Regions from separate parts of the Homo sapiens genome. Here regions 1, 2, 3, 5 and 6 are each linked to region 4. The links are contacts of gene promoters, found by promoter capture Hi-C in human tissues and cell types (Jung and others, 2019). All regions are on one chromosome and are shown on one strand. The core of a region is centred on a gene start or on the middle of the fragment in contact, and the rest is flanking DNA. Distances in the headings are between cores, read along the strand shown.

Region 1 (4,577 bases), core at 1,508-4,007, 570 kb before region 4:
TTTGAATTGCACATTTAATTAATTTGGCTATTCATTAACAAAGTCATTTCCTTATAATCAGAGAATGTCCAAAATTTATGTAGAAGCTCATGCTTGAACTTTTCCTTTGAAAATGATTTGCCAGTTAAATTTTAGTTTTCTAACTAAAGACCATTGCTTAATTTCTTTAAAAAAAAAAAAAAAAAGAAAATTTTTTTTGATAAAGAATTCTGATTTCCTTGGTTCAGTGACTTTTCCCTCAAATCTATTACTCATTTTGTAGAAGGTTTCACATTTTTTAATGTATTTGGCATTGTATATATATATTTTTATGTCAGTTTTCATGTTGGTTTCAATGTAATGTATTTCAATGTATATCTCATGTAGAAGAGAATTTGTGTGATGTGTTTAGCCAGATAATTGGGAGTTTTGATCCTAGCTTCACCTTCAACTGGCTATAATCAAATGTCTAAAATCTCATTTTCTCTGGGGATGAAAAAAAAACCCTGAAGGTCGTCTTAAATTTTCATTAGATCTTTAACCAGTTTTTATACTGAAAGAATCTAATCAAGTGACCATGGATTGAGTTGTCAGTGGAAAGGAATAAAATGTAGGAATAGAGGTTACTACTCTGGATCAAGAAGTAGGCCAATTTTCTTTAGCAGTTTTTATAAAGATTCCTAAGATGGTGAAGTAAAGTGAAGTTTCTAACTGAGAATAAAATTAATCCTAAGCTACTGAAATGCTAAGTCAGTAAAGAAACATTTTAGGAGGTTACACAGTTGTGCAAAAAAAACGACATGGTTTTTGTTATGGCAATTATAATACTATCTACTCAAGTCTTGAATTTAAGAATGTTTTTAATTGTAGTATATTAATGCAGCCACCTCTCTTCTCCTTCTTACGTACACAAGCACTCTTCTCATCCCAACTCCCTCTAGAGGATGGATGGGCTCTGTCTATATGAAGGTCATGAGGAATTACCACACACTCTGGATCACCCATTTTCATATTCCTGGATGGATGGATGGATGGATGAATAGATAGACAGACAGGAGTAGGAGGATAAAATGACTTTAAAGAATGGCATTATATTAGGGGTCAGGAGACAGGATCACTGCATGCTCTGTACTCAATTCCACCAGTGAGTATGGCTATTTAACTAAGCCTCAGCTTCCTCGTCTAAAAAAATAAAGATAATGATAATAGGACCTAACTCAGGAGGTTTTCATGCAAATAAAAGTTAGTTAGCATAGTGCTTTGCAGAGATTAAACTTTTAATAAATGCCATCTCTTGTTGCTATTGTTTTTTTTATTTTTGTTTTTTGAGACAAAGTCTCGCTCTTGTCTCCCAGGCTGGAGTGCGATGGCGCGATCTCGGCTCACTGCGACCTCCGCCTCCCGGGTTCAAGCAGTTCTTCTGCCTCGGACCCCCGAGTAGCTGGGATTACAGGCGGCTGCCACCACGCCCGGCTAATTTTTGTATTTTTAGTTGAGACGGGGTTTCACCATGTTGGCCAGGCTGGTCTCGAACTCCTGACCTCAGGTGATCCACCCATCTCGGCCTCCCAAAGTGCTGGGATCACAGGCATGAGCCACTATGCGCGGCCGACTCTTGTTGCTATTATTTATGAAGTAATAGTAATACAAAGGAAGGGAAATGAGAAAGAACTGAAAGCTTTCTAGAGCATATATCAAGGAGACTGAGAGGAGGCATGGATTAAACCAGAGCTGATGTTAACAGCAGTCTGGAAAGGTACAGGTCTTGCTAACCTGGCTTCTGTGACATACCAAATACTGAGCTGAATGGAGCTGAGTGTCTCTTGGTTGGCTGTTACATGGTAGTAGCCAGCTCTTTTTTGCAATAGTGTCATCTCCTTTGAAGTACCTGAGTCTTAGTGTATGTTGCTTACATACCTGTATGCACCCCTTCCTATTGTGTGTATACTCACACACATACATACAAGCTACATTTCCTAACTCTACCCATCTTTCAGTGCTCTACTTTTCCCAGGAAGCTTTCATAAATTGCTCAGCTATAATTCTAAAATCGCTAAATTACTTTACTCTGCATTTGGATTCTGAGTTATAACTGTATTGCTGATATTGTTCCTCAGCCAGTTTCTCAATCTTGACTATGCATTGGAATCATTTGAGGAATTAAAAAAAATACTCATATATGAGCTCTACTTCCAGGGATTCTGATTTAATTGGTGTAGGGGGAGGCCTTGGCATTGAGATTTTTTGGAACTTCTCAGGAATTCTAATATACAATCAAGGGCGAGAACAACTGCTCTAAGCCGAGTTAATTTTTGGCCTTGTTCAGGTCACGTCTATTTCCAGTGGAGCTATGCACCAAATATTTGCTGAATTGACTACTACTTGATTGTTTCAGATAGAAATATGGACAGATAATGTCTTCTTTCTTTCTTTCTTTCTTTTTTGAGACAGCTTCTTGCTCTTGTCACCCAGGCTGGAGTGCAGTGGCACGATCTCGGCTCACTGCAATCTCCACCTCCTGGGTTCAAGCGATTCTCCTGCCTCAGCCTCCCGAGTAGCTGGGAGTACAGGCATGTGCCACCACACCCGACTAATTTTTGGATTTTTAATAGAGGTGGGGTTTCACCACGTTGGCCAGGCTGGTCTTGAACTCCTTACCTCAGGTGATCCACCCGCCTTGGCCTCCCAAAGTGCTGGGATTACAGCCATGAGCCACCACGCCGGGCCATGTCTTATTTCTTTAGCCACAAGAATATCACATGTTGCCAGTAAAGTCCCTTCATCTTCCATTTTTACAAGGTAGTGTCAGTGTCCTTGTTTTACAAATTCCCTTTCGTCTCTTTTTTCTGATGTGGAGAATTGCAGAAATATGACTTTGAAAATGTTACTATTACCACCTCTACAGCAGTTAAATTAATAATGTGCCTGCTAAACAGTGGCACATTTAAAAGTGCATGTGATCTTTTTAGTGTTTAATCATTTTATAATGTCATTGTATATACTTAAAAGAGCTGTGATCTAATTAAAAGTCAGTTGCTGGGAAAAGAATTGACATAAAGAAATGCTTTTATTCAAATGAAAATCCATAGAAACCACCTCAAGACTTGAGGGATTTCAGATCATATTGATATTCACTGTTATTTCTAAAGGCCATTGGTATAAGGTTTTGGAAGACCTGATCGTGTGTCTTTAACTAAATTAATTAGAACTTTCAAAAAGTACATTCCTTCTTGGTGGCAACTCAAGAGAGATGGTAGAGCCCCTCTCTCAAAATGAATGATCGGAAGATTGAGGTAGTGTTTCTCAGATCACACCACACAGGGGCAAAACCAGGAGTAAAACCAATGCCACTCCATAATGAATCTATTAATAGAAGATCAATTTGTTGGTATGGGAAATTTCAGCTGTTGGACACTTTCTACTTTTAGAATTGGGAGCTGTGCATTTTCTTTGAAAACTCTTAAGCTGTTTTTTGCTTAATAATTATTGAGCTTCTGAAAGAGGTATCCATTTCACAAATAGTGTGAAAGGCTTGCCTTTTGCCCCTGGCTTCAGCATATGAGATAAAACAAATGTTAATTTTATTTTTACGGGCAGTTGTTGGGTGGTAAAGTTTTTTGCTTTGGTTATGATTATTATGCGTTCCTATACTTCCTCCTTTTTTTCCAATAATAACTTATTATTCAAGGAAAAAAAAAACACTTTAAATCTTTTTCTGAAACTATTTTCCAAATTTATTTTTCTTTGGGACACTGAGAATAAGATGTGATAAAAAGGCCTAGTTTCCATAATGATTTGTTTACAATAAAAGCCAATTTGGGGCAGAGCTACATTTAGAAACATATATAATCCTCAATATGGGAATCACATATTTCATCATGATCTCAAATATATTCTGTATAAATTTCATGACAAATATATTTAAATATTATTTAAATAATGTTTGATAATATTTAAACAGTAATATTTTAGTCTATCAGAATTTATTTTCATCAAATGTCATAGTCATAGTAAGCAACAGTTTTGTGATTCCTGGGTTTGAGTCTCAGCTCTGCTCTTTTGAGACCCTGAAAATTCATGTTCAAATTTATCTTTCTCTGTAGTTTGAGAATTCCTTTCACAGTATGTGCATGAGGACGAAGAAGCTTGGGTTGTGAGAGGGGCTGCTGGAAAGAGCTGTTGGGTCAGTAAGCAAAAGTTGGCTATTTACACATCTATTGCCACCACAGCCTTGGTGCAGAAGGGAAATTCCTATCAGTAAATACCCTTTCCGGAAGAATACATTTCTCCAGGCTCTGCTACAGAGCTCAGTGACAGCCTCATAACTGAACTAGGGGAGAAAATCTCCTGACCATAGTTTTGCGGTGTGGTTTTGTTCCAGAATAAGAATGTGAAGATCATGTACGATAGGTAGATCCAATGACCAGTTGTACCTTGTTTTATTTTTTGAGTCTAGATGAGGGCAGCAAGTCCCTTAGCTCAGGCTCTGAGAAGTGATTAATGAAGAAAAGAAAGATCAGTCTTCAAATTGTTTTCTTTTTAATTGAGACCAGTGAGATCAGCAAAGTCTTATGTTTACAGTTGGTACCCTTGGCCTT
Region 2 (4,462 bases), core at 433-2,932, 650 kb before region 4:
GGTGGCTCACGCCTAAAATCACAGCACTTTGAGAGGCAGAGACGGGTGGATCGCTTGAGGCCAGGAGTTCGAGAGCAGCCTGGCCAACATGGTGAAACTCCGTCTCTACCAAAAATACAAAAATTAGCCAGATTTGGTGGTGCGCACCCATAGTCCCACCTGCTCAGGAAGCTGAGGCACAAAATCACTTGAACCTGGGAGGGAGAGGTTGCAGTGAGCTGAGATCTCATTGCTTCCCAGCATGGGCAACAGAGGGGAAACTGTCTCAAAAAAAAAAAAAAAAAAGAAAAAAGAAAAAAGAGAAAATAATAAGCTGGGCATGATGGCTCACGCCTGTAATCCCAGCACTTTGGGAGGCTGAGGCAGGCAGGTAATGAGGTCAGGAGTTCGAGACCAGCCTGGGCAACAGAGTGAGACTCCGCCTCAAAAAAAAAAGAAAAGAAAGAAAAAAAATAATAAAAAGAGTGATAACAAGTCTTCTTCTTCAGGCCTGTAATTCAAGTCAAAATAAAAAAAAATCATTAATATTCTGCTACTAGAATATGGCAACAAGAAAATGTTATAGAGAAAAAGTATATTTATTCATAAGCTGATAATAGAGACATATGAAAAACCTTTAATTTGTCTATTGAGATTTGTACAAATCAATATTGCAAAGGTTTTTCAGATGCTTGAAATAAAGTAGTATGTCACAGATTGACATACTGGAATTAAACTAGTATGTCATATGTTATGTTGAAATAATTGTGATTAAAGTTAATTTTTTCCTAAGTGTGAGATGTTATTGTTTGTTTCATTTGTATCATTTCATGAATGCATAATGTCTTTATGAATTCAACTTTTCTCTCTAGGACACATTGTGAAAATCAAAATCATGACTTTCATGGGTTTGCCAAACAAGCTGACAAAGTAGAATTATCAGAAGGAAGTCTAATAATGTATTAGTTTAAGGCAGGGGTTTCCAATCTTTTGGCTTCCCTGGGCCATATGGGAAGGAGAAGAATTGTTTTGGGCCACACATAAAATACACTAACACCAACCATAGCTGATGAGCTAAAAAAAGAACAAAATTGCAAAACAAATCTCATAATGTTTTAAGAAAGTTTACGAATCTGTGCTTGACTGCATTCAAAGCTGTCATGCTCTGCTGGTTGACAAGCTTGGATTAAGGTTTTTTCCTTGTGGCACGGTTAGCCAGTTGGTTTTTTTATTGTTGTTTGGCTGGTTTTTTGAGACAAGGTCTCTCTGGGTCACCCAGGCTTGAATGCAGTGGTGTAATCACAGCTCACTGCAGCCTTGACCTCCCAGGCTCAATCAACCCTCCCACCTCAGCCTCCCAAGTAGCTGGGGCTACAGGCATGCACCAACACACCCAGCTAATTTTTGTATTTTTTGTAGAGACAGGGTTTCTCCATGTTTCCCCAAGCTGGTCTTGAACTCCTGGGCTCAAGCAATCCTTCCACCTAAGCCTCCCAAAGTGCAAGGGTTACAGGCGTGAGCCACCATGCCTGGCCAACTTAAGCTACTTTAAATTCCTTAAATTATAAAGGATTATCATTTTTTTTTTCCTATGTAGCTATGATGTAGACCATTAGCACCTGGCCATTAGCCAATTGTTAGTGGCCTTTTCTACTGAGATTTGACTTTACAAAGGTGTTTTGACTTTATAATGGCATTTCTTACTCAACCTTATTAACCAGTCATCACAATTGTAATATGTTTTCTTTTGATACAGTTTGAGTGTGACCTAAGGTTGTTTTTGTTTTTTAATTTTAAAAATAGAGACAGGGTCTCACTATATTGCCCAAGCTGGTCTCAAACTCCTGGGCTCAAGCAATCCTTCCACCTCAGCCTCCCAAAGTGCTAGGATTACAGGCATGAGCCACCATGTCTGGCCCAGTTAAGCTATCTTACATTCTTTAAATTACAAGGGATTATTATTTCTTTCCTATGTAGCTATGATATAGACCATTAATGTAAATATGAAATGTAAGGAGTATATTATTCTAGTGCATATGAGTGTGAGGGACTGACTCAGGGAGATTGAAGCATGCACCCAGCTCAAAGCCTCTCACCATACCTTCACATCTTGTTGCTGCTTGCCGTTCTTTTCCTCCTGTCTTGGCCATTTCCTTTACAATACTGTTGCAAGAGGAAATATAAACATATCTTGAAATGTGAAATATTTCTGTGTTGGTCTTCCCTTGAAACTGAAGCAAAGCACATTAGTAGTGTTCATTCACTGTTTGACCTCTAGCCTCATGTTGTCTTTTGAAGTAAAATCATGACCTAGAAAGTCTCCCTTCTCCACTTCTATTGATTTCTCATCATAAAACATGCTTCCTGATGTATTTTCTAAAAATACTAGCTAAAAGAGATATTTTAAATTGATTATGAATTTGAGTGAATACAAAGACTTATTCTTGATTTATTTAAAGAATTTAGAGCAGTCTGTTTTCTGGGTTTTATTGTCTTGACACTTATCTTAATGCCTGCTTATTAATGTCAGCTATGTTTTACCTCTCAGTGTGCAGATACCTATTCTCTTATTTACTGTCTTTTATAATTCTGCCTACAGAGAGGCATTCAGAGTTTTTCAGAGTTGATTCAATCTGCAATTAGTTTGGAGGGCAGACATTTGCTTTATAATAGGCTATAAATGTTGCTGTATCTATCTACTGAAAATTTTTTTTAAATGCTAGTTTCTAATTAATGAGAAATCATTAACTTTTATAAAATTTATTTTTCCAGGATTCCCTTATGAGAAGATTTTTTTCTCTAAATGAATGTTTTAAGGCTATAAGTTAAAAATGGATGACAAAATACTCAATTACCTCTTCCCAAATGATAAACTGTTTATTCACAATAATAAAAGTTTTCAGGAAAAATCTAAGCAAAATACGAGTGGAAGAGGCATTATTCTAGATTTATTTTAGTCTAGAAACTTTTGCTTTAATTATTATCTTTATTTTTATTTGCCAGATGCCAGAATCATACAAAATACTAATTAGCATCCTCTTGTTTTTGACTGCTTTCAAGAGAACTTTTTGTTTGTAATTGACATACAGCATGCCCCATTAATCTTCAAAGCTTATACTTTGGACCTTATTTTTTTCTGAAATTTTAAATTACTTGTCTTTTAATGGCTTTAAAACTCAAAATGTACTTATGTAATCCCCCATTTGAGCAACTTTAATCATTTAGTAGTTGCTTTTCCCCTGACATAGTGATTGAATATAAATTGTCCTGCTGGGTTCTTGCATGTCTTGAAGACAAATGACAAACACCACCTTGTCAACTGCAGGAGTCACTTTATTAAACTGATAAAACCTTATCCTTTTAGATCTGTATCAAGTGGTTAAAATGTGTTTTGCTTCAATTTTACCTATTTTTTATATAGGAGCTCAGAATAATATTCAGGACTTCAAGATAATAGTGCAAAAAGAGTGACCACATTGATTTCTATTTGTGTAGGTTCAGATTACTGCCAGCAGTTTCAGATATTGAGAAGGGATAGTCATCTTCTCTGAATTAACACCAGATGGCTTTGTCACTTTATCAGTAGAGAACTTACATCCCTAACTGTACCCATTCTCTAGGTCCTGATTACATACTGATAGGTTCAGACTTTTATTTTGCTGATTAGGTTCTTTAATCATAAGGAGGGCTGTATTTGTTTGTGTAGGGCACTTGGAGATGGTAAAGATGTAACCTCCCTCTAGAACAATATTGCCCAATAGAACTTTTTATGAGCATACAAATGTTCCATATTACTCTTGAGCAATACAGTACCCACTAGTGACATGTGGCTATTGATTTCATGAAATGTGGCCATTGTGACTGAAGAGCTTAATTTTTTATTTAATTTAATATAATTAATTGTAATTTAATTTAGTCAGTCACATGTAGCTAGTGCCTACCATGTTGGACAGCATAGCTTCTAGAAGCTTACAAGATATTGGGACTCTACAGCTATACTGTTTCTCTACTAACAACACTTCTGACACCAAATGTGTGGATTTTCCATACCAAGCAGTTCTTGAATTTGAGACACCAACTGGGTATATACAGTTTGTTGCAATTCTTCCAGTAATGACCTGGAGTTAAAACAGATCCTATAGGTTCAGACTCAGTCCCACAAGACTACCCCCGGCTTCCGACACCAATTGTAAGTAGTAGATCCCCAGGCTACCCACAATTCTCTCTGACTTGGCTATAATAATTCCTTGGTGTCAATACTTTGTTATAACAGCTCACAGAACTTGGGAGACACTTTACTTACTATTACCAGTTTGTTTTAAAGGATATAAGCAAACACCAGATGAAGTGGTAGAAGGTGCAGAAGGTCCTGAGCACAGGATCATCTGTCCCCGTGGTATCTGGGGTGCATTACCCTCTTGGCATGCAGATGTGTTCACAGACCCAGAAGCCCTCCAGACATCATCATCTAGGGTTTTATAGC
Region 3 (4,559 bases), core at 677-3,176, 530 kb before region 4:
TCTTCTGTTGCCTAGGTAATTCTAGTGCCCACTGATTATCTACGAATGATACCTTCGTTGTTCATACTGCAGCGCCTCTGCCATGCTAATGTGAGATAATGGTTTCTTGAAGAGTGTTTGTTTCCAGCCTTTGCAGCTCATTCAAACTTGGGAGAGCTCTGGTTGCAGCAGAAACTGCAAGCAGCTGGCCATATGCATTTTATTGATTTATTGTATTTTGCGTTACAGTTGTCCACTAGGTATAAGGTGACCCTTAGAGAACATCTATTTATAGTAACTAGGGGTTGGGTTTCTGGAGTTCTATAGCAAATGGACTTATTTTTACATGTGTATTATACTAATTAGAATACAGAAGATTCCTGGTTAAATAGGAAAATACACCTAATACCTTTTTAAATGTTTTTGGAATATTGTCTGAAACTATTATATTTAACAGGCAATAGCCAGCCAGGAATTGCTTTTTTCTCCCTTCATTTTGTTTTTAAACCAATTTAAGAAAAATTGATGTTTTTTCTCAAAATAGATGTTGTTGGATGCAGCAGAATTTTTACATAAATAAGCCATTCTAGTGTCAAAGGAAGAATTATAGAAAAAAATATTCTGATATGAAAATGCTATTTCAATATTCAAGAGTACAAATAGGAAAGGTTTCATATTGTTGGATGTTCTGCCTAGCAAAATGGTTAAGAACACAGGAGGCACACTGCATGCTTCTGAATCCAACCTTGGGCTTAGCAGTTGTTGTTACTTGTATTTTGATAGTTCCAATGCAGACATGACAATTAATTGAGGTGCCCAGTAGTTAATATAAATAAAAGATGCAAGATTGTATTCTATTGAACATGGTTCATGGTGGAAATTAACCTATGGGAGCAGACAATTCTTGGAAGGCCAGGCTCCAGGCTTCATTCTTTCCCACAGTATAGGTAATGCAGATGCTGGAGTAAAGAGATGTTCTGGCCGGGCATGGTGGCTCACGCCTGTAATCCCAGCACTTGGGGAGGCCGAGGCAAGTGGATCACGAGGTCAGGAGTTCAAGACCAGCCTGGCCAACATGGTGAAACCCCGTCTCTACTAAAAATACAAAAATTAGCCAGGTGTGGTGGCGTGTACTTGTAGTCCCAGCTACTCGGGAGGCTGAAGCAGGAGAATTGCTTGAACCTAGGAGGCAGAGGTTGCAGTGAGCCAAGATTGTGCCACTGCAGTTCAGCCTGGGCAACAGAGTGAGACTCTGTCTCAAAAAAATAAAAAATATAAAAAAAAAGAGATGTTCTAGGAAGGGCAGGACAGTATAATCTAGCAAGAAGTTTAAAATGGTATAAAGTGTAAAGAATTTTGATTTCTTGGTTCAGGAAGGCTGACTACCTCATTGGCTGGGAGGAGCAGCAAAGCACTGGCAGAAATTCAGGTACTAGTTCTTTAGACCTTGTGTGATTCACTGCAGTATAATCTGGGGAAGGACTCCTAGCATCTCTGGAGTGTAGTTCTCTAATCTGTAAAATTATTTGGCTGGGTTTAATTCGTAAATCCCCTTCCAGCGCTTCTGTTGCTGGCTTCCATAATCTAGGTTATTGGTAACCTTTAAGTGACTTTAGTGGAGTAGTGTGCCCAGTCGCCAGACTGTAGGGAGTTAAAAAGGAATTATATGGTGGAAGACCATCTGCTCAGGAAGTTGAGTTTACTGCAATCCAAGAAAGGTTATAAACCCCTCCTAATTTGGTAGATACATTATATAGCACTCCTACAATATGGACTTGTAGCGATTTCCCTTTTTAAAGTTTTGTTCTAAATCTATTCAGTTTTTAAAGATTTATTAGTCTTTAAAAAGATTTAAGGATATTTAAGGTGATTTAAGGAAATCATGCATGTGGCTCAGTTTTATCTGGCTCAGTGTGTTCTAATGCTCTCAAATAGTTTAACCAGTTTGAGACATAATTTCTACTTAAAAGATTAAAAAATAACAACAACAACTTCACTAGCTTGGCAAAGAAATAAAGCGTTTGTGTGGGACCAAAAACCCAAGCATGGGAGTGAATTTGAGTACTGAATAGAAGTTCTTATGATTATCTTAGTAAAACAGAATAAAATAGTCAAGGCATCAAAGATGCTTCTGAGAGAGCCTAGCCTGAATATGCCACAGCCGCACAGAGTTTCTCCTCAGGTAATTCTGTCTGCTGTCTTGAAGGGTAATGAAGAGTCTCTTATCAATTGGTATTTATACCTGAGCCAATTAAAATTCAATGCCTTGATAAAAAAAATCCAGAACTGAGAAAAGTTGAATTGGAAGTCAAAAAAATGAGCTTAAACACATTTAATAACATCATTCTAATTAACCCATTTAACCTATTAAAATTAAAAGTTTCAATAATAGGCATGATGTATAATGAAATATTTCATCTACAGGATGGAAACTTCTTATACTCATGGCTAAAATGTAAAAGAAGGAAAAATAGAAGTAAGAAAGCAAGATTTATGGTCCAGAATAAAGATATACAAGGATTATTATGATCTAGTATTGTTTTAATGAATCTATATTTCTGACATTTTTCTCTAAGGAAAGAAATCTCAGTTATTCATAAATATGAATAAATTTGTGAACTTAACCTGAAATTTACCTACTTCACGTTTTTTCCTGTTTTGAATCTATTCACATTTTTAAAGGTCTAGTGATCTTTGAAGAAAACCTATCAATTAACGCCTTCTAGCTCCACCTTGTTTAATAATCTATATCCTGACAAGTTGCCCCCTTCTAAAACAAAGGATTGGGCTTTGGGAGTGTCTACTTTCTTGAGGAATGATTTTTCTCTCATGAGGTCCTTGGAGAGTTCCATGTATTTTTGCTGTCATGCAGGTGAATAAAATACAAGTATTTTTGGTCAGCTACTTGAGGCAATATTTTACTTTAATGGCAGAATTATTATGATAGAGCAGATCATGTGTATTGACACACCCTTGAGAGAATTCAGTTTCGCATTCAGTGACACCCAAGCTTTGAATCTGTGAAGTAGACTAGCCCATTTAATATGCCAATTAAAATGGATTGATCTACTTTGACAGTCTTTGGAGAAAAGGCCAATATGAAAGGAATGCTTTTTAGTCATAAGAGCTTATTTTCTGTGCTGCAAGTTTCCAAATTGAGGATGAAAGTCAGTACTTGTTTGCTAAATCATGTACATATTTATATAGATCTCAGCTAAAAACATATAGTACACTTGGTCTCTCATTTTTCAAATTAATGAGGAAGTGGGAGTTTCATGCTTTCTCCTCTAAATATACAAATGCATAGAATTTTGCATGAATTACTTTCTTAAAGATCAATGAACACTGCATATATGTGTAATAAATTTTTGTTTTTAAGGAAGTAATATAGTATAGTGGCTTTGCATCTCATACAGGCCTAGCTATAAAACCTGTCTCTTCCACTTATTAAATGTGTGACCTTGGACAATTGAATTAATCTCTCTAAGCCCCACTTTTGTCATATTTTAAATGGGAATAATGATCCCTAACTCAGGGTTGTGTTTATGATTAAATGATAGTTTATGTAAACCTCTTAACCAAATGTCTGACACATTATGCAAGCTAAATAAATATTATTGCTGTTTTTTATTTCAATAATTTATTATATAAGTAATATTTCTTTCTCATTAAAGAGATGAGAAAAAATCCTAAAAAGTCTAGAGGAAAACATTATATTTTCAACATTTCGGATATATTTTTTAGTCTGTATTCAACTTAGAAAGAAATTGAATGTTTAGCATTTAACCTGTTAGATTTCTTTTATCCCTTTGTGTGATTAAGACTATCACTGTATAGACAGAAGCCATTGTTTTAATGGCTTTTGAACTTGGTTTTTTTTTTTTTGGTTCCATTTTTTAATGGAGCTAATTTTTTAATTAGCTCCATATATTGACAGTTTTGATTTTTTTTTTTTTTTTTTTTTCTTGAGACGGAGTCTTGCTCTTGTTGCCCAGGCTGGAGTGCAATGGCTCACTGGAATCTCTGCCTCCCGGGTTCATGTGATTCTCCTGCCTCAGCTTCCTGAGTAGCTGGGATTACAGGGACCTGCCATCATGCCTGGTTAATTTGTTTTTGTATTTTTAATAGAGATGGAGTTTCACCAGGTTGACCAGGTTGGTCTCGAACTCCTGATCTCAAGTGATCCACCCGCCTCAGCCTTCCAAAGTACTGGGATTACAGGCGTGAGCCACCTCGCCCAGCCTGACAGTTTTGATTTGTTATAGATAAACCTTAATTGCTTATTTCTTCTTCTCAGATTACATTATTCTGTTGTGTCCTATACTTCTTAAGAATGGTATTGAATTAGAAATATCAGAATATAATGCCTAAGAAACCTGCCTTTTGAAAATGTTTTGTAGAAGCTCAATGAAGGCTACATATTCATATAATTCCTATAATTTTTGTATATTTTCATGAATAATTTTCATAAACTTTACGAATCTCCATGAGTTTTGAGCAAATATTTATATTTTAATGTTCTCCTCATTTATTTCTGTGAGCATCTTTATTGTTTCCCCAACCTTATTTAAAAACATCTT
Region 4 (4,641 bases), core at 285-2,784:
ACGGCAGCCCCTCCTGGGCAGGGTATACATGCTTTAGTTTGCCACAATCCCCACCACTCCTTACTGTCTCTGTGACTCTGAGATTTGGGGTCATGTAACATTTATTATTGCATTGGCACTGCTGTCTTCCTTATAGTGTTTCCTGAGGCCTTTTTCTCTATCCTTGTCTCTGCCCCAAGAGAGAACAAAAGATGTCTAGAAGTCATCTCAAGAAGAACCATTTTCCACACCTGCCCACTTTGCTCTGTTATATTTCATTTCTGCCCCTGTCTAGCCCAGAAAATTAACAACTTTATGTTTGAGAACTGGACTCTGGGTCTTCCTTGGTGCTCATGATGGGAGTTCCTCCATCAACCAAAAGCAGGCACACCTTTAGTCATAAAATTTTTCCCAGGTATGAGACTACAGCCCTACTTCTTTCTTAATAAATCCATTGTTAATTTAAAGCCACCAAAGTTATCAATATCTGATGGTCTCCCCCAACTCCCACAGCCCCTTCCTCCAGGGCCTGACTGGCCTCCAGCACAGAGGAGACACTGGGGAGCTCTCCCAGGCCCTGCCTGCACCGCACCTCTCCTGTCTGTCCCCAGGTCCCAGGCACCTGTGGCAGCCAGATCAGAAAGCCCTGTGAGTGATGAGGGACTGGGGTTGGGAGGCAGGGAGAGGCAGAGAGGTGGCAGAGGGAAGTGCATGCAGGGGACAGCACCAAGCTGGGGGTGTGGGAAGGGAAGTGGGGGTGCTTTTGCTCAAGTACCCTCATCTCCCAGAAGGCCTAAAACAGTGGCCAGTGATGGCATCTCCAAAAGAGGTCATCCATCCAGTTACAGACACATTCCGACACGATCAAAGAAGGATGCAGAGCCTGGATTCAGAGCAATTCAAATCTACCCTCCCAGGAAAATAATATATTTAAAAGTTAAAAAAAAAAAAAAAAGAAAGAAAGATGAAAACCTCATATGAGAACTGCAGTAAAGCTTTCCAGGTCTTTTTTTTTGGGGGGGAGGTATAAATCCCATAATTAAATTGTGAACACTACCCTGTATATGTGTTTGTGTTTGTGCATGTGTGGGAAAAGACTTAAAATATTCAATGTAGGCTTTTGTATTTCAGAGATTTTGAAATCGCGTCTTGGCATTTCTGCCTTTTCTTTTATGATAGCGGGGGCTCCAAAAGTGGAAGAGGGGCTGCCTTTCTTCTGGGAGCCTCGTCCCTGCTGCCTCCCACTTGGGCAGCCCCATTCAGTGGTGTCACCTCCCCCAAACCCCCCACCACACACACACACAGCCTGTCCTGAGGATGAGAAACAAAGGCCCTTGGGACTAAATGGTGGCCACTAATTGTTACAGGGAGAAGCTTTACCTGGGCTGGAAATGAAGCTTTACCTGGGCTGAGGATGAGAGGGAGGGGAGGAGGGTCAGCAGTCATGGGGCTCAGAGCCTGGCATCTGCTGCCCAGGACTCCAGGGCCTGCTTCTCCCCAAGGACCTCAGATTCAGTTTCTCTTGTCCCACCCGCCTGAAGTCCTCCTCTCCAACTGCCCCATTCAACTGCCACTCCCACCACACCTGAGAGGGAACTCTGGCGGGCCAACATTCCCTCTGCCCACATTAAAGGGCTCTCCCCTCTTCCAGGATGGCCTGTGGCCGGGTCTGGCTCTTTGGTGACAGTCAGAGCCCATGCATGAAAGCACTGTGCATGGCCAGCCCTTCCCTGGCTGTCACAGCACATCCTTGTAGAAGAGAAGGAGAAAAATCCTCTCTCCAACCGTCATTCTACAGACGAGAAGCCCAAGGAACAGAAGCCTGTCCACGACTGGCGTGGGGCTGAGACCAGCACCCAGGTCCCCTGAGTCCCACTCCAGGCTCCTTCCTGAGAGAATGCATCGAATTTTCTACGCTGTGTTCCTGCAACCGGGAATCAACTTTGGGATCAGGGGAAGGGAAGGGAGGGGAGGGGAGGGCAGGGGTAGGGGAGGGCAGGGGTAGGGGAGGGCAGGGGAGGCGAGGGGAGGGGAGATGAGCCTCATCTTCAAAACAGAAAATCTCATTCATTCATTCCCCATTCATTTAACGAAAAAGAAAAGGGTAATTTGAGCTCAATTTGTCTTGAAATGAACGGAAGGTAAGTCTGAGACCTGCACTAGCAGCTAGCCCTTGCATAGAAAAGTTCCCCTGTGTCACCCTTGGAACCCTGCACATCCCGAGCGCAAGCGTGATTCCCGGGGTCCCTTCTGCGCCTGTCCCAGAACAAGCGCCCGATTTCAGGGGAGCCCAGCCGAAGGGTTCCACAGCGCTCAGCGAGCCGGCTGGGAGGGAGCAAACTCTCTAACTGCAGAAAAAAACAAATCTTGATTCCGCTTTAAGGGTTATTTAAACATCTTAGAGGACCTTCCCAGCCTCACGCACGTGGATTTCATGAGGAACTTGGCCGCTACCTTCTCCTGTCCTGCGCAATGCCGCCCCCTGCTGGCTGCCTTCCGGCCCCGCCGCTTCCTGGAGATGCGAATTCACCGCCTTTGCCCAACCTGAGTTCCCTTCCTACCTAGAGGGAGGTGGAAATGGAGAGGGGCTGTGGGCAGCTGTGTAGGAAAATGGGTCCTCCCAGGAAGGCTCCCCGGCCTGGGGAGTGAGCTAGACCGACAGCAGTTTCCTTACACGTGTCCAAAGTGTTCCATTTAATTTCCGTCCATTCTTCCCTTCATGAATGCAAATCACTGCTAATAATATCACTCGACATTTCTGGAGCCCTTTGTGTATCGCAAAATTCTTCATCCTCTTTATCACTTGATCTTCGCAACAACCCCGGGGGTCTCATAAACACAGCAAAGACTCGCTTCCACAATCTTCCAAACGGAGTCAAGTGCTGTCAAGTTTATGGAGGAAGAATGCCGATCAGTTTTCCTCTATCTCCATGAAAGGCTGGGCGGAGATGGATTTCCACCCAGACAAACAGTATTGGGCGCTACGCAAGAAGATTGGTGGGCCTAGCCGGAAACAGAGTGGAGAATGATGGAGAGGGACTGTCCGGTCTGTATCCAAGGAAGTCCTTAGGAAAAGACCAGCCAAGCTCCTGTTCCAGGCAGAGCGTGGACTCACCCATAGTCAGGGAACTGAGGCCCATCCTGGGTGTACACACAGCTCGCGGGGGGGCGAGATAATCCACTGGAATACAAAAAGAAAAAAAATAGAAATCCTTTTCATATTTCTCCTCTTCCTTTAAAAATTCTATTTTGGCTGTGTGCAGAGGCTCAGGCCTATAATCCCAGTACTGGGGGGCCAAGGCAGGTGGATCACTTGAGCCCAGGCATTCAAGACAAGCCTAGGCAACATGGTGAAACCCCATCTCTACTGAAAATACAAAAATTAGCTGGGCGTGGTGGCATGTGTCTGTAGTCCTAGCTACTTGCGAGGCTGAGGTGGGAGTATGAATTGAGCCAGGGAAGTCAGGACTGCAGTGAGCTGTGATCGTGCCACTGCATTCAGGCCTGGATGATGAGAGTGACTCTGTCTCAAAAAAAAAAATTGTGTACAGTGATATACATGTGTAGGGGAGAAAAAGTGTGATACTTTTCCTCACCAGTCATGTGGGTCATGGCTGACACTCTTGTAACAAAAGGCAGACTAACAAAAGGAAAGCATAACAATTTTATTTCATCAAAGTTTAATGTGACATGTGAGTCTTCAGAAATGAATACCGAAAGGCTCAGGAAGAACTGTCCATTTTTATGCTTAGACTCAATGAGGAATGGACAGTGGTATAGAAATGCGATTGGACAGAAAGTTCTGATTAACTGTAATGGACCGAGGTGATGGGATGGGGACCCAGCAGGGCCTGTCTGTTCAGATTCTTCTTGGCCTCTCTGCACAGCATTTCTTCTTTCTAGGTATGGGGCACGACCCCTCTGGAATGAGGGTCTTAGGACCTACTCTCAGACAAAGTTGGTCAGAGAATTTCTTTACGGCCAGCTCCTGTGCAGAAGGGTGGAGGAAAGTTTGAGTCATAGTTTTAGGTTCTATCGGTGGCTTTGGGGGAAGAATTTCTATGACTCACCTTGGGGAAGGGGAACTCTGGTTTCTATGACTCACCTCATGGGAGAAGAGGTGCACAAGGGGTGCAGGAGGGCAGGAGAAGGTCAGAGAGAACTTGCTTCTGAGGCTGCTTCTGAGGTCATCCAAACTCCATCAGTTCAAAGTACTCAGCCTGCCAAAGTGCCATACTTTGGGGTATTGTTGTCCGAGCCTCAACACATGTCCACCCTGCACATCCTTGTAAATAACTATACATGCATAAATTAGGGGTCTGTGTGCGCACATACCAGCAGTGGTGCTCCATGGCAAGGGAAAATTGGTGCTTGATGGGAAGGAAATTTTCCCAGCTCTGAGGTTCTGTGGGGTCTCTATTCCAAAGTGAGGTTCTCGCCGGGCATGGTGCTTCACACCTGTAATCCCTGAACTTTGGGAGGCTTGGGCAGGCAGATCACCTGAAGCTAGGAGTTCAAGACCAGCCTGGCCAACATGGTTGAAACTCCATCTCTACTAAAAATACAAAAATTAGCCGGGCATGCTGATGCACACCTGTAGTCCCAGCTACTCGGGAGGCTGAGGCAGGAGAATCGCTTGAACCCTGGAGGCAGAAGTTGCAG
Region 5 (4,127 bases), core at 565-3,064, 670 kb before region 4:
TTATATAATTTTCTCCACTTTTCAGATGAGAAGACCTAGCTCAGAGAGAGCCCAGGTCTTGAAAGTTACAAAGTGATACAGCTGTGATTGCAGCCCAGTTCTTCCTGTTTTCAAAACGCTTGTTGTTTCCATGACCTTTTAGCTATGAAGACCTTCCATGACCTTTTAGCTATGAAGACCTTCTGTGACCTTTTAGCTATGAAGACGTTCTCCCCTCCAGCAGTTTGTTGATACTCTGAGGGCTGGGGTAGGGGAAGGCAGTTTCTCTCTTTTACTTGATTTAACATTGGGTTTAACCTTATTCACTAAAGAATGAAAGCTGGCTTGTGAAAAATGTGGCTTGGATTCCGTATGAGAAAGTTTGGTCAGTTAACGATTATACTATAGGTAGGTCTTTGCAAGGCACTTCCTTAGACGGATTCTCAGGACAGCATTGGAGCAAATCACTGAAGTCTAGGGGTTGTACGTAAGTATAGTGTGGGAAAGGCTAATGCCATCTCTTCCTTGTTTCACTTAGCCAATAAACAAAACTTCAGTGTGTTTCTATTGGAAGAAAATTAACTAGCATTCATTACCTACAAACTCTGTACTGTCCTTCAGAAGTATATCTAGTTTTATTCTGGTTTTTATTTACAGTCAGCTTACTTTGCTAATTTATAGTTTATTGTGTTTTTTCCTGCTAACATTCAAGACTTCCCATATTCATTTTAATTATACAGATTATAATTTCTATACAATTTCTAATTGTAGTAGTAACATTCACATTAAATGTACTGCTGAATTTTGCCAAGACAAGAATATAGAACAGGCTTCATCAAAGTGTAAATGAGAAGTGGAAATGGTTTGGGTCTATTTTTCAAAATGCTGAATGACTTGAAAGTATTACTTCTGTACGACTTGCGTAGAATAATGTATGACACAATAAAATGCCTAATATAACATCTTTATCAGTATAATAACAAGACATAATACAATTAATTTTTTTTTTGAGATAGGTTCTGACTTTATCACCCAGGCTAGAGTGCAGTGGCAGTGATCTCCGCTCACTGCAACCTCTGCCTCCTGGGCTCAAGCGATTCTCCCACCTCAGCCTCCCATGTAACTGGGATTGCAGGCACACACCACCATGCCTGACTAAATTTTGTATTTTTAGGAGAGATGGGGTTTTGCCATGTTGTCCAGGCTGGTCTGGAGTTCCTGGGTTTAAATGACCCACCCACCTTGGCCTCCCAAAGTACTGAGATTATAGGTGTGAACCACCATGCCTGGCCTATTAAATAATTTCTTTTTTTTTTTTTTTTTTTTTGGAGACAGAGTCTCATTCTGTCACCCTGGCTGGAGTGCAGTGGCGTGATCTCAGCTCACTGCAACCTCCACCTCCTGGGTTCAAGCGATTCTCATGCCTCAGCCTCCCGAGTAGCTGGGATTACAGGCGCCCACCACCACACCCAGCTAAGCTTTGTATTTTTTGTATTTTTAGTAGAGACGCGGTTTCACTATGTTGGCCATGCTGGTCTCAAACTCCTGACCTCAGGTGATCCACCTGCCTCGGCCTCCCAAAGTACTGGTATTATGGGTGTGAGCCACCACACCTGGCTCTTTCTGTAAAGATTTAAAGTAGTATATAGTGAAGTTCTTTTCCCCTCCATATAATTCAGTTAATATGGTGAACTAAGACTCTGTCATTTAAGCCTTAGAAGTTTGGAATTTTAAATTTTTACTTGTAGTATAAGTATGAAATAATGACCCTGAGTTTCTCTTGAGAAATCTTATTATGTGTTCAGATTAGTATTATTCTCTATAAAGTGATCCACTTGTAAGGCTACATACGTTTATTCTAGTGGTGCTGCCATTGGTCAAATCGTTTTTTAATCATCTTTTTATATCATTCCCATCTCCGTTTATAAGCAATAGAATAACAGAACATAAGAGAATAGAATAGAACACACTCAATAGAAGAGAACAATGAATTACCTTATAGTTATAGTTAAGGTTATTGATGAGTGAGTCTTCACTTCATCTGCACTGATTCGTCACCTTATTCATTGTGGCTGAGTCACAGTAACTTTTGGTAAGGTTTAGACATCAGAGTATAGTAATTTCATTTTGTTAGTAAATACTTATTAAGCACTCACTATGTGCCAGGCACTGTTGGCACTGGGGTTACTTTGGTGAATAAAACAATTGCCATTTATAACATTAAATAACCACTTCTAAATGCATTTGTTTCCTAAAAAGGAGTTCCAAAACTTTATAGAAAGATTAGAATTGTCAGAATACAGCTCTGACCTCACAGAAATCATACAAAATCATAGTATATTATGGGAAGGTAGTATAAATAAGAAAGGAAAATGAAATAGCTAGTTGAGTGATTGCTATTCATAAGGTCAACACATGAAACATCAACCAGGTTTAATATCCTGAAATAGATTTTATAGGCCATGTTCTTTCTCTAAAGGTCACTGGAAGAACTTAATACCTTTTTATTAAAAATAAAATGGGAATGGTGGAATGGGCTTTTCACATATTATTTGGATAAGTTGAATAGGCAAATTTTGCTTCCTTTTTATGAAGTTATATTATTTCATATTTGCCATTTCTTATTTTACATGTGAAATATGTTTCTTACCCACCTTGCTATCCATCATGGAGAAACGTAGACTCTAAATCTTGAGGGTTCAAATGAAGTATAATAATAAATAGGAGTTGTTAAATAAAAGTATGTATATATGTATGTATGCATATACAAATAATTTTGGAGCAATCTCCTGTTTAAAGCAGAAAGTGAAAGCAAGGATTAAAGGCTCAATGCTTCTCAGTGAAGCATTTTTTTTGGTGAGGTTTCATAGTATAAGGAAAAGTGCACATGTACAGTTTGTCTTCACAGAGCCCTGTTTTCAAATTCAGACTGCCATTTAATAACTTCTCTGTGCCTCCATGTGGTATGACAAAGCCATTGTCATTTATTTATCTAGAGATACCAGTCTCACAGCTTTGTCAGGATGATGGGATGGAATAATGTATATAAACTATCTTGTGCAATGCATAAGTAGTTAGGCATTCAAATTTCCTTTTTCCATTTAAAAAATTGCACAAGTAGTAAATGCATATAATATTTTCATATAGCATTTTTACAATCAGAACTATAAAGAATAAAAATCACACTCCTTTCCCTAGTGGTAATCATTTTTAACAATGTGGTGTGTATCCTTCTAGGCATTTTAAAGTACTTAGTTATCTATATATGCATGTACATTTCAAATGTTATACATATATAGTTATTGTTGCTTAGCTTTTCAACACCTAGGATCATGCTAAACATCTTTTCTTCTGTAACATTACTTTTCCACACTGTATTTAGTCTTTCATAATCATATAGAACTACCTTATTCCTTAAACTGTCTTAACATACTTCATTGAATGAAGGTGTCATAATTTATTTATTTATTCCTCCATTGAGAGCACATTTATTCCATAATATTTTAAATTTCGGTGTATGGTGGAACTGTGCAGAAAATAAATCATGGTTTAAGTTTTGTTTCTTTTGTTCTCAAAGAGATATCAGTCATCTTGAAGATGCTCACAGTGCTGAATCTATGTATAGTATATTCAAATCTTTTTAACTATAGAGGTTAAGATGCATCCATTCTAAAGTGAGGAAGACAAATTTTCCAACTTGTCTAATCATGGAAATCTTGCTCAGGAGGTGGAACTACATTATTAAATCAGAGAATGTGGATGGGACAGTAGCAGGAGATAGGGTAGTCTGTGAGAATAAATTTGTAAACTGGTCATCAAAAGTTTCCTGAACACTGCTTCTTGGTCAGGACTTCATACATAGCAGAGCAACTTCACTGCTTTCTTTGGTTCGTTCGTATTTATTTATCTAGAGATAAGGTCTCACTCTGTCGCCAGGCTGGAGTCCAGGTGCGTGATCTTTGCTCACTGCAACCTCTGCCTCCTGGGCTCAAGCGATCCTCCCACCTCAGCCTCCTAAGTAGCTAGGACTACAGGCGTGTACCAGCACACCTGGCTGATTTTTAAATTTTTTTGTACAGATGGGGTTTCGCCATGTTGCCAAGGCCGATCTGGGACTCCTGGGCTCAAATGATCCTCCTGCCTTGGCC
Region 6 (4,181 bases), core at 91-2,590, 620 kb before region 4:
AAGCTTTGTTGTTCCTGAGCAGTTACTCACTGCAGGTAGGGCTCGGTTACACTAAAGAGTGTGTGAAATCATAAAAACCTTAAGCATTTAGCTGTACAAGACACAGGGGAGAAGACCTTTTAATCAGCACTTACCTTCATTAAGACAAATTAACTGACAAATATCTTTTTGAAACTTGGGGAAGAGAAATCCTGAAATGTTTCTAGTGGTAAAGGAACAGTAAATGGAAATCATTTGTATAGTACCCAGTATTACTAATTTAACATGTATAACAAAAACTTCCTTTAAACTTAGCATTTGTGCTTGGTCTGAATTGTTTTACTTTAGTGAACATTCAGTGGTCATTTATAAACTCAGTATCTCCTTATCTAATTTCTCCATAATAAATTTCTTGTTAACAAATTATATTACCATAGATGTTTTTAGGAGCCTATCCCTCAGAATTGAGGAGTTACTATACAGTTTGGTTATACTGATTTATTATACTGATTGTTTTTAGTAACATATGGAGAGAGAGTTAAATAATTGTTTGCTTTTGGAGTTGCAGTGAACTAAAACTGTATTTTATACAATATAAGTCCCGCTCTATCTCTAACTTGTTTCTTAGCACACACACCTTAAATTTTATAAAGTCCATTAAGATTTTGATTTTTAGTGCAATACTTACTCTAATTCAATCTCAAACGTTATTGTTGTATTTCATTTAACTCTGTTTTGAAAGTATTTCAGATATTTGCATTATTGTCTTAATGATACTCTTAAAACATACTGAAAACACCACAGATGACATTTGGATCTGACTGTTCTAGCTCTTTCCAATTAGAAATATTTCTCTACATACTTTTTGCAGAAGTGGATATCAAAGGTACATGCTTTCAAAGCAAGGTAACAGAAATTAGAAATTGGTATGAAGATGCAACAATGGGCTAACAACATTGAGTACATAAACTAGAGTCAGGATTGAAAATAATACACAGAATACCCTGACCATGGAAATGGTTATGATATTTATTTATTTATTTGGAGATGGAGTTTCACTCTTGTTGCCCAGGCTGGAGTGCAGTGGCGCGATCTCGGCTCATAGCAACCTCCGGCTCCCGTGTTCAAGCGATTCTCCTGTCTCAGCCTCCCAAGTAGCTGGGATTACAGTCATGTGCCATCACACCCAGCTAATTTTGTATTTTTAGTAGAGACAGAGTTTCTCCATGTTGGTCAGGCTGGTCTCGAACTTCTGACCTCAGGTGATCCGCCCACCTCAGCCTCCCAAAGTGCTGGGATTACAGGCGTGAGCCACCGCACCCGGCCGATCTTTATTTTTATATTCTAGCTAGCAATGTTATACTTCCTCAAGAGGCCAGTTCTTACTAAATCATAGTATTATTTGTGTGAGAACTACAAGAAGTTTACATTTCTGAGCTCAGAGAAGTTATACAGGACCACAGTTTCTTATGTGAAAAAACATTTAGAACCAAATATGTTTTCGATTTCAAAACTTGCTGGATTTAAATAAAAGTAATACTGTTTTGATACCTTTTATTATATAGTAACCCCAGCATGGCTTAGGGCAGAATCTGCACATTAATATTTTTGCAGTAAGATGTATACATATTCACACAAAGTGAGGAACATAAGGCAGCTAATCTCATCTCAGTTCTGGGTTTTGCTGACAAATGAGTTAAGAAAAAACAATTGGATTTCAGAACTTGTGGCATTTTAGAATTGCAAATAAGAGATGGTAGACCTGTGTACTAGTTAGAGGTGAGAAAAAAAACACACTTGGAACAAAAATTAAGAGCCGTGGTCTTGGCTCTAAGTATAGTGAGAGTTAGGAGAAATTAGAGACTTCACTAAGAAAAGTTTTGAACGGGGGCTGAAGGAAGATTCATAGAAAAGTGTTTTCATTTGGAAATGAGCAAGACTAATGGCCATCCAGCCCAATTAGAACCCAGGTTCCTGTCGGAGGATTGTGGAATAAATAGAGTTCTGTGGGGACAGGGTGGGAAGATTATATAGAGGATTTGAATGTCAAATATGAGAATTGTAATACTCTGTCAGAATTCACGAAACTTTTTTGATTAAAGAAGCAATGTGAAAAATAGCAGCCTTCCTGTGGAATGAATATGGGGTTAAAAGGAAACATAGTAGTGTCAAAAGACAAAATTGCAACAATTCAAAAGATCTAATTGACTTATTAGTGACTCATGAATCAGTGGCGTTTCTTCCAAAGATCTAGCAAAGGCTCTCCAATGAATTATGCTTAAGAGGTTGGCTTCATAGGCAGAAAAGGGCTGAAGAAAGCAGAAACAGGGAACAAAAAGCTGATTGGTTGTTTCAAAGTTACTTTCCTTATAGGATTAAAGTAGAAAGGACTTCTTTATCATGCCAGCTCAGGGAAACTGGGCCCCTTCTGATTGGCTGCTGTGAATCTCCTGCTTTTGTTTGTTCGTTTTTCTTCAGAAAACTGGCCCTTTTCAATGTTCAGTTTGACTGTGTGTCACCTAGCATAAGTGACTCCATTCTGGTTTGGTCTGGTTTCTTGGGCCTACTGCAGGAGCTCAGTCCAAATCAATGTCCTCATATAAATTTTATTGAACAGTAGTCAAAGTTGATCTCAAGATTTCTAGACTGAGAGCCTGGAAAAGAGTGGTCTGATGGGGAAAAAAGCAGAATTGAAAAGTGCTTCTTGGTGGAAGGGTTTAGAACATACTGTTTAATGGGAAATTCAAGTGGAAATATTTCAAAGCAAAGGTACAGGTTATATGTATTCAGGATTAGAATGGAAAAATCACTGAATTGTAAGCAGGTATTGTAAACATACGTGGAAAATTCTCTCTCTCTCTCTCTCTCTCTCTCTCTCTTTTTAAGTTGAGGCAAGGTCTCTCTCTGTCATCCAGGCTGGAGTGCAGTGGCGTGATCACAGCTCACTGTCCTCAGCCTCCCAGGCTCAAGCAATCTTCCCACCTCAGCCTCCCGAGCAGCTGGGACCACAAGCATATGTTACCATGCCCAGCTAATTTTTTAATTTTTTTTGTACAGACAGTGTCTTGCTATGTTGCCTAGGCTGGTCTTGAACTTCTGGGCTCAAGTTAACTGGCTGCCTCAGCCTCCCGAAGTGCTAGGATTGTAGGCATGAGACACTGCACCTAGCCACAAAGCTTTAAACTTAGAGACCTGAAAAACTATCAAGTATTTTCTGTTGTGTTATAAAATCTAAATAACTTTGAAGACCATGAAATAGCTAACATCATGAAAGTGAGCAGGTTGTTTACACAGGAAGGTTTCCCTTAAGGTATATAGGCAAGGTAGCCCGAGTTGGGTAAGCTGAGGGGACCCTGATCAATATTCAAAATTTAAAAAAGTTTACTGTGGGATGTACTGTTCTACCCTTGGGTGAAGAGATTCTGGAATAGGTGCATGTTTTGGAGAAATCTAGAAATAACTCACACTCTCTTCTATTTCTGTGAGGCCTTAACACCCTGGTTGCTCTTTCCTTCACTGAAATGAGGGAGGTATGCTTGCCCCTGAGGGCAAATGTCTCTGTTGGGGAGGAGAATGTAAACATCATGGATTCAGGTGCCCCAGCCATTCGTCCTTCATGAGATAACCTGGGTAGACTTATCCCTGATCAACTCTTTATCTCTGTGTTTGTTGACTCTGAGCATAGAGATTTCCTGGAGGCCCTAGAAAACAAGGAAGCACCATTTTGAGAGGCTGTGGTTTCCTCTGCTTTGATTTCTCCACCAGTTCCCTCCCATGTGCTTTCTCCCTTCCTGTAGTTTCTGAAAGTTTCTGGTCTACTGATGGAATCTCACCTTGGCTTTCTGTGTTATTGTTTCCTTCTTAAAAGTATATACATTATATTAATTATGTGTGTGTAGGATGAAGGTGAGACATGTGTATTACCATTTCAGAAGGGTTTTGTGTTGAAGGGTAGGCAGATGCATGTATTCAGTTTGCCATATTGAACCTAACACGATGACTAAATTTCAAACCCTGTAATCAGAACCTGTAGCCCACATAAGAAATTGTCCTTATTAAAATAAAGGAACGTTATTAACTAAGAATTCACCATAATCTTGGTTTTCCATAGTTTCTTTTGAGAGTATAAATTTTGTCACATGTCTGAAATCTTTACATGGAAGCTCTGACTCCTGGCCCTTTGGTTGGAGCCCACTTCCACC

What was found. The method cuts DNA at HindIII sites, captures the fragments that hold promoters and counts their contacts. A contact is called where the count stands out against the background at its distance.
Region 1: a fragment that was not itself captured here is called in contact with the fragment with the promoter of ABCC12 in region 4 in 3 of the 25 tissues and cell types used here (H1 embryonic stem cells, adrenal gland and dorsolateral prefrontal cortex).
Region 2: a fragment that was not itself captured here is called in contact with the fragment with the promoter of ABCC12 in region 4 in 2 of the 25 tissues and cell types used here (dorsolateral prefrontal cortex and spleen).
Region 3: a contact is called between a fragment that was not itself captured here and the fragment with the promoter of ABCC12 in region 4, in 5 of the 25 tissues and cell types used here (IMR-90 fibroblasts, dorsolateral prefrontal cortex, lymphoblastoid cells and 2 more).
Region 5: a contact is called between a fragment that was not itself captured here and the fragment with the promoter of ABCC12 in region 4, in 4 of the 25 tissues and cell types used here (IMR-90 fibroblasts, dorsolateral prefrontal cortex, lymphoblastoid cells and 1 more).
Region 6: a fragment that was not itself captured here is called in contact with the fragment with the promoter of ABCC12 in region 4 in 4 of the 25 tissues and cell types used here (H1 embryonic stem cells, IMR-90 fibroblasts, dorsolateral prefrontal cortex and 1 more).

What each region holds. Positions count from the first base shown.
Region 1 is chr16:47,580,391-47,584,967 of GRCh38, forward strand. The region is part of intron 8 of PHKB (phosphorylase kinase regulatory subunit beta); the gene reads left to right. Among named protein-coding and RNA genes, the nearest start is that of PHKB, 120 kb to the left of the region's middle. The HindIII fragment of the contact is 5,115 bases long and covers 201-4,577 here.
Region 2 is chr16:47,505,761-47,510,222 of GRCh38, forward strand. All of the region lies in intron 4 of PHKB (phosphorylase kinase regulatory subunit beta), which reads left to right. Among named protein-coding and RNA genes, the nearest start is that of PHKB, 47 kb to the left of the region's middle. The HindIII fragment of the contact is 3,671 bases long and covers 1-3,518 here.
Region 3 is chr16:47,619,636-47,624,194 of GRCh38, forward strand. The region is part of intron 14 of PHKB (phosphorylase kinase regulatory subunit beta); the gene reads left to right. Among named protein-coding and RNA genes, the nearest start is that of PHKB, 160 kb to the left of the region's middle. The HindIII fragment of the contact is 7,108 bases long and covers 1-4,559 here.
Region 4 is chr16:48,154,459-48,159,099 of GRCh38, forward strand. ABCC12 (ATP binding cassette subfamily C member 12) reads right to left here and starts at 1,535. Exons shown (of 31, transcript NM_001393797.1): 1 at 1,383-1,535. RefSeq lists an enhancer at 3,519-4,641. The HindIII fragment of the contact is 12,201 bases long and covers 1,164-4,641 here.
Region 5 is chr16:47,481,750-47,485,876 of GRCh38, forward strand. All of the region lies in intron 1 of PHKB (phosphorylase kinase regulatory subunit beta), which reads left to right. Among named protein-coding and RNA genes, the nearest start is that of PHKB, 22 kb to the left of the region's middle. The HindIII fragment of the contact is 9,826 bases long and covers 1-4,127 here.
Region 6 is chr16:47,535,046-47,539,226 of GRCh38, forward strand. All of the region lies in intron 6 of PHKB (phosphorylase kinase regulatory subunit beta), which reads left to right. Among named protein-coding and RNA genes, the nearest start is that of PHKB, 76 kb to the left of the region's middle. The HindIII fragment of the contact is 5,027 bases long and covers 1-3,854 here.